2 separate regions of the Homo sapiens genome follow, and region 1 is linked to region 2. The links are contacts of gene promoters, found by promoter capture Hi-C in blood cells and fetal thymus (Javierre and others, 2016). All regions are on one chromosome and are shown on one strand. Each heading gives the region's core, a stretch centred on a gene start or on the middle of the fragment in contact. The rest is flanking DNA. Distances are from core to core; before and after follow the strand shown.

The links. The method cuts DNA at HindIII sites, captures the fragments that hold promoters and counts their contacts. A CHiCAGO score of 5 or more calls a contact.
Region 1: a contact is called between a fragment that was not itself captured here and the fragment with the promoter of GDI1 in region 2, in 2 of 17 cell types (monocytes and activated CD4 T cells). The highest score is 8.3, in monocytes.

The regions. Positions count from the first base shown.
Region 1 is chrX:154,355,395-154,358,338 of GRCh38, reverse strand. It overlaps FLNA (filamin A), which reads left to right. Exons shown (of 48, transcript NM_001110556.2): 28 at 1-140; 29 at 716-905; 30 at 1,065-1,088. Among named protein-coding and RNA genes, the nearest start is that of FLNA, 18 kb to the left of the region's middle. The HindIII fragment of the contact is 1,643 bases long and covers 429-2,071 here.
Region 2 is chrX:154,435,268-154,438,403 of GRCh38, reverse strand. GDI1 (GDP dissociation inhibitor 1) reads right to left here and starts at 1,250. Exons shown (of 11, transcript NM_001493.3): 1 at 1,105-1,250. The coding sequence starts at 1,149. It overlaps ATP6AP1 (ATPase H+ transporting accessory protein 1), which reads right to left. Exons shown (of 10, transcript NM_001183.6): 9 at 2,899-3,130; 10 at 1,888-2,722. The coding sequence ends at 2,513. RefSeq lists an enhancer at 1,218-1,718. The HindIII fragment of the contact is 14,364 bases long and covers 1-3,136 here.

The sequences.
Region 1 (2,944 bases), core at 1-2,500, 80 kb after region 2:
TGCTGCCTACTCATGATGCCAGCAAGGTGAAGGCCAGTGGCCCCGGGCTCAACACCACTGGCGTGCCTGCCAGCCTGCCCGTGGAGTTCACCATCGATGCAAAGGACGCCGGGGAGGGCCTGCTGGCTGTCCAGATCACGGTGAGCTCCGGGCACAGGCAGGGGAGGCAGGGGGGCCTGGGCGGCTGGAGTGTGGGCTGCGGGTGGCTGGTGTCTGATCTCCCTGCGGAGCTGCACCAAGGAGGGCAGGGAAGGACAGGGCCCCTGTCTTTGGTTTGCTAAGGTTGTGACTACCTTAGGATGGTGGTGACAGGCACAGGCTTCCCCAGACGTGCACTTGCTGCTAACTTTGAGCACGTCACCAAAGCCTTCTGTGCCTCAGTTTCCCCACCTGTAATATTCTCATGGGGCAGGTATAGGATAGAAGCTTGAGATCACCCCGGTGAGCTCCTCCTAGTGCTGGCCAGGCCCTGGGGCTGAGGATGGGTGCCAAGCTGGCTGGCCGCGCCTGTTGTCATGTGGGAAGTGTGGGATGTTTTAGTCTCCATTCTGGACTCTGCCAGGTGCAGGCAGCCCTTTTGGGCCATAGCAGTTAAGATGCCTGAGGCCCAGAGACTGTCCCTGTAGCAGCAGCGCTGGGCACTCTGGGAGCGCCTGAGGCAGGCCCGGGGCTACTCGGGCTTGGGCCAACTGCCTCCCCTGCCTCTGCCACACAGGATCCCGAAGGCAAGCCGAAGAAGACACACATCCAAGACAACCATGACGGCACGTATACAGTGGCCTACGTGCCAGACGTGACAGGTCGCTACACCATCCTCATCAAGTACGGTGGTGACGAGATCCCCTTCTCCCCGTACCGCGTGCGTGCCGTGCCCACCGGGGACGCCAGCAAGTGCACTGTCACAGGTGAGCCCGCCCGCTGTTGGCCGCTGCGGCGCTCGGCACGGGGCTTGGGTTGTGCCTGTGTGCAAGGGCTCGCTGCTTGGGGCGGCGTGTGGGAGTGGGGGCCGCCCCCTTGAGTGACTCACCTGACCTTTCTCCTTGCTCTCTGCCCTCTCACCTCAGTGTCAATCGGAGGTCACGGGCTAGGTAAGCTGCTTGCTGGGGCCACTCCCAATGCCCCTCCTGCCCAGAGGGGCAGCTTCCTTTCCTCTTGGGGCCGATTCCCAGGACAGTTCCAGCTGCAGCTCTAGGCAGGGACAGAGTTGGGTGGGGTGCAGAAGATGAGGCCGTGGGCTGGAGGGCGAGGGCCCAGGGAGGCTTCCGGAGCTGAGCATGACCGCTCCAGCTCTTCCCCTCTCTGGGCCTTTATTTCCCCATCTGAGAACTCGGGTTGCAGCTGAGAGCTTTGGGGTGAGGTGCATCCTGAGAGGCACCCCACTGGGGACTTTGGGGTCTCGGGATCTTGGCACCCAGGGAGGCACAAGGGCTCCTGCGTGGGCTGAGGGAACAAGGGGTCTCCCCAACTCAATGGGAGCCCCAGCCCTGGCCAGATCCACAGACCCCCATCCCCACCTTCCAGGGGCCTCTGCGTCCCGGGCCGGGGGAGGTGCATGAGCGGGTGGGGCTGGCTGGTAGTGCAGTAGCGCCAGTGTCGACTGCTTGGGCGGCCAGCATGGCGGGGCCCGGCCCAGCCTCAGAGCCCCAAAGTGCATTCTGTGGCCCGTCTCCCTCCTTCCCCCTTCCCCTATCCCCCAGCAGTGACGTTATTCAGACATTCCCCAACAGGCATGGAGGGTCACCTGCCCCAGCCAGGGACACCCAGGGATGCTGATGAGAGGCTACAGGCCTGGCACTTGGGCGAGGTGGCTAAGGAAAGGGTGAGAGGGTGGCTAGAGTTTTGCGGCAGGAGCGAGATGGCTTTATAGAGCAGGCCGTAGGATCCGATGTGTGTGTGACAGGCGTGTGTGCGCAGGGCGGGGGAGGCTGGGGAGTACTGATTGCAGGGCCTTGGGGGCTTTGAGGGTGGGAGCAAGACTCAGTAACCTCAGTTTCCCTGGCTACTGTTTGCAGAATGGAGACAGGGAGCCCGGGGTGGGGAAGGGGGCGCTGAAGTTGCTCTCTGGCAAGCTTGACGGCCACGGGGCTTCAGTGAGAGCCAAATTAGGAGGCATACTTTGAGGATGGAGTGGCTGAGACCTGCGGTTGGCTGGGAGCCGGGCAGGGAAAGTGGGGGCAGTCGGGTACCTGTGAGGTTGGGGCCCAAGCCACTAACTAGATGGCATGGGGTGCACATGAGTGAAGCCTCCCAGGGCAGCGTGGGCAGCCGGCAGCCAGGTCTGGAGCCTGGGAGAGCTGCCTGGCCGCGGCAGGCCAGCATGGAGCCTAGTGCAGCAGGAGCCCTCGGCCGATAGTGGGACTTGGTGGCAGGGCCCCTCGAGCTTGGCCTTCAAGTAGGTTTCGTGCTCCTGGCTGCTTCCCTGGCAGGAGGCCAGGCTGCAGGGGGCACTCTCACTGCCAGGCCTCACAGCCCACAGCCCCCCAAGCCTCCACGGCGGAGACCCAGATCATAACGTCACTGTCTCTCCCCTTTCCTCGGGCACTCTGGGGCCCTGGAGCCTGCTCAGCTGCTCTGCCCTCGCAACCCAGCAGTGGTGGCTGTAGCTTGGGCCTCCTGTTCCCTGTCTCCCTGGGTGCTATCCCCGCTCTGCCAAGCCTGCTGCGCTGCGCTACTCGGGTGCTAACCCCGCTGCCTCCCGCTTCCCCGCTCCCACTCCTGTCTGCACCGGGCTGCTTTTCACCGCGAGCCTTCTCAGTTGTCAGGAAACTCCGGTTTCACCATCAGGCCTGGGGGGTGGGGAGGCAAGTGTCACATCCCCCCACGCTGCAGCAGGACTCCGCCTCACCGCGTCCACACACAGCAATGGGGGCCGGGGCCAGGCCAGAAGGGCGCAGGCAGCCGTGTGCCCAGCCAGATGCTGGCGTTCAGCAGTGTGGGCCATGGT
Region 2 (3,136 bases), core at 1-2,500:
CTGGCTAGTTGCCTCGCCTAAAATTGGGGTGATGGCTTCATCCGACCACACTCTCCATTGCAACCTTGCTGGGCAAAGGAGTCCCGTCCCCCTCACAAGGCGGAGAGTGAAATAACGGAGGCTTTGAGGGAGGCAGGGCATCCAGCAGACACAGGATGGCCTTCCAGTACCAACACGCCGAGAGGCATCTACCTACGCAGAGCCGCACAAAAAGGCGGATAAAACACAATAAGGCACAGAGAAGACCCAGCTGGACTGCAAAGGACACTCGAAAGGGAGGAAAAGAAAGGCTTAGCACAGTCCTTGAAATTGTAGGCCCCACCCTGGACTGCTCTTTCTTCAAATAGCAGGAGCCCCTGCCGCTGAGGAGGGGCATCTGGGCCTGGACCGAGGAAGAAGAGTCTCTGAGGGGAGTAGGCCAACGGGGTTTTCGGGGAAAGGGGGAAGATAAACACCCTCACCAGTCACTGTCACTAGCCCAAGGACAAAGGCTGCAGATGCTACCCAGCCTGAGGTCTCCATGGGCAACCGAGGTGGGGTTGCGGGAATGTGCTTACTGCCCCCACTGCTGTTCCTTCTGGAACATTCCCTGGATCCCCTGGCCCCAGAAGACGATGAGGAGGCGGGCTGAGGGCCCACTCTGGCGAGGCCCCCTGACCCCAGGTCCTTCTACTTCATCCCCACCGGGATTAGCGCAAGATGGGAACGGACGCTGAGAGGCAACGCTAGGCGGGCAATGGGTGCGGGCGACGGGTGGATGCCGTGATGGGTGGGGGCGATGGGTGGGCGGGGTCGTGGGCATCGGGCCGAGTGGGGGTGCGTTTTCCGGTCCAGCGGGCAGGGGTAGGGAAGATGGGAGGGCGCCGGGGGTCGGACCCGGGTAGCCCAGGAGGCGGCCAGGAAGGGGGCCTCTTCGGGGAGATGGGGTCATGGCAACGAGCAGAGGCGACGTCGCTGGGGGAGCAGCGGGGTGGGCACGGCGCCGGCTTTTCGGGGAGCGGAGCGCAGAAGATGGCAGTGACCAGAGGATGGGCCGGCGGCCGCATCATCGCGGGGGATGGCGAGGGCACGACGCAGGGCCAGGGGCGCCGGGGCCGCACTTACGGTGAGACCGGTCCCCAGCACGATCACATCGTATTCCTCGTCCATGGTCAGGCCTCGGTGCCAGCGCCCGCTCGGCTCCTCCTCCTCCTTCACCGCAGCAGTCGCCGCCGCCACCGCCGCCGCCGCCACCGCACTGGACCAAAGATGGCGGCGCGTCGGCCGTCGCCCGACCCCTCCGCCGCGTCAAAGAGTCCCGCCTCTTCCCGCGCCCCGCCGCAACCGGCAGGGGCCACCGCCTCCCCGGCTCGCCTCCCGGGAGGGCTGCCAGGGCCCGGGCCACAGCACCAGCGCGGCTCCGCGGGCGACGCTGCTCGCCGAGAGTCTAGAGAGGCGCGGGGCGGGGCGGGCGGGGCGGGCCGGCGGCCGGTGCTGCGGCCCAGGAAGAATCCGTGCGCGGGAGCCGCGCGCGCCCCGCCCCACCCGCCGCGCCCCGCCCCGCCCCGCCCCGCGCGCGCCCGCCCACCTCCCCACCCCCGCCCACCCCCCCGGGAGTCTCGGCGCGGCCCCGCGGCCGGGCGCGCGCCGCTGCGGCAGCCTGGGGCGGCCCCCTCACGACGCGAAGGCTGCCATTGTCACGACGGCCTCCTGAGACGCCGAAGCGCACCGGGACTCGGCCCGACCGCCCCTCCCTACCCTGAGCGGTTAGGGCCCAGCTTGCTAAAGCCCCTCCCGGTCTCCGCGGATGCCTCTTCGCCTCCCCCTCGCCAGGCTCCATCCTCCCGCATCCCTCCGGCGAGCACGCGCCTAAAGCCCAGCGCAGAAATGAGCGACAAGAGGCCCAACGCATGGCGACCCGCGTTTATTTTATTAGGAAGGAAACAACCAAGCACCCCATGCTCCTGCCCGGCACTCCCGGTGGGAACATGCCAAACAGCCGGCGATCGCACCCAGCCCACCTGTCGTGGAGGTCCCTTCCTTCTCAGGCCACAGAAATAAACCCGTGTACTTCTTATTGTTAGCACAACATCACCAGAAAACGATAACGACAGCCAAGCAGGACAGACAGTTAAGTAGTACTTCCACACTCCCAAACTCAGGGAGCCCTATAACCTTAAGGAGGGAGCATTTGCTACACAAAAGCACTATCCACAGCCAGGGATGATGTAGCCACAAGAATAAATAAGGAGAAAGGAGACCCTAGAATTCATGTCCCTTACGCCTCACAGCGACGAACCCTGGGAAGCTGGTTGGTCTAGCATCTACGCAGAATATGTACACCTTGTTGGGAGAGATGGGGGCAGCCCAAGAAAGCTCCTCAGCGGGCTGAAGAGGGAGCAAGATGGGCTGAGGGGAGCTTGCAGTTCATGCTGCAGTAGGAAGAGGGAAGCTCTTCAGTCCAGTGCGCTGCAGGGTGGGAAAGCAACAACACGGACACCGTCCCACCCTCAACCCCCCCACTGGCACAGGGTCACACAATCTGGGTCAAAGAAATAGTGGGGCCCTTGTGGTCATCAAAGCGATCCATGGTCTTGAGGCTGAGGATCATGTGCAGGCCATAGGTGAAGATGAAGAGCATGAACAGGGAGGTGAGCAGCCCCATCCAGATGCCGGGGGAGAAGAAGCTGGCACAGTCGCTGGCGTAGGAGAACTGCTCCCCCATTACGTTGAAAGCCTGGATCTGGCAGACACACAGACACGGGTCAGAAAGGACCGTTGGGAGGCCCAGCAAGAACTGGGACAGGGGCAGCGCAGGGACAGGACTCTCAACTACATGCCCAAGCCCAAGCCTCTCTTCGTCTCTCAACCACTAGCCTGGGCTCCCCCACCTGAAGCTGGGCCACGCCCGCTCCATACCTGGAAGTCCTGAAGCATCATCTGCCAGGGAGAGGGCTGCGTGCGGGCCACGAGGAGACTACCCTTCTTGCTCAGGCTGCTGACATACTCGCAGTGGAAGGAGTAGATGCTGGGCCCTGTGACCTGGGAAGCATTGAAGTAGGCGACGGAGCCATTGCTGTGGACTTCGAGGCGCTCCATGGTAAACCAGTGCCGGGCAGACACTGGGTAGAGGCGGTTGGCCAGAATGAACCTGGGG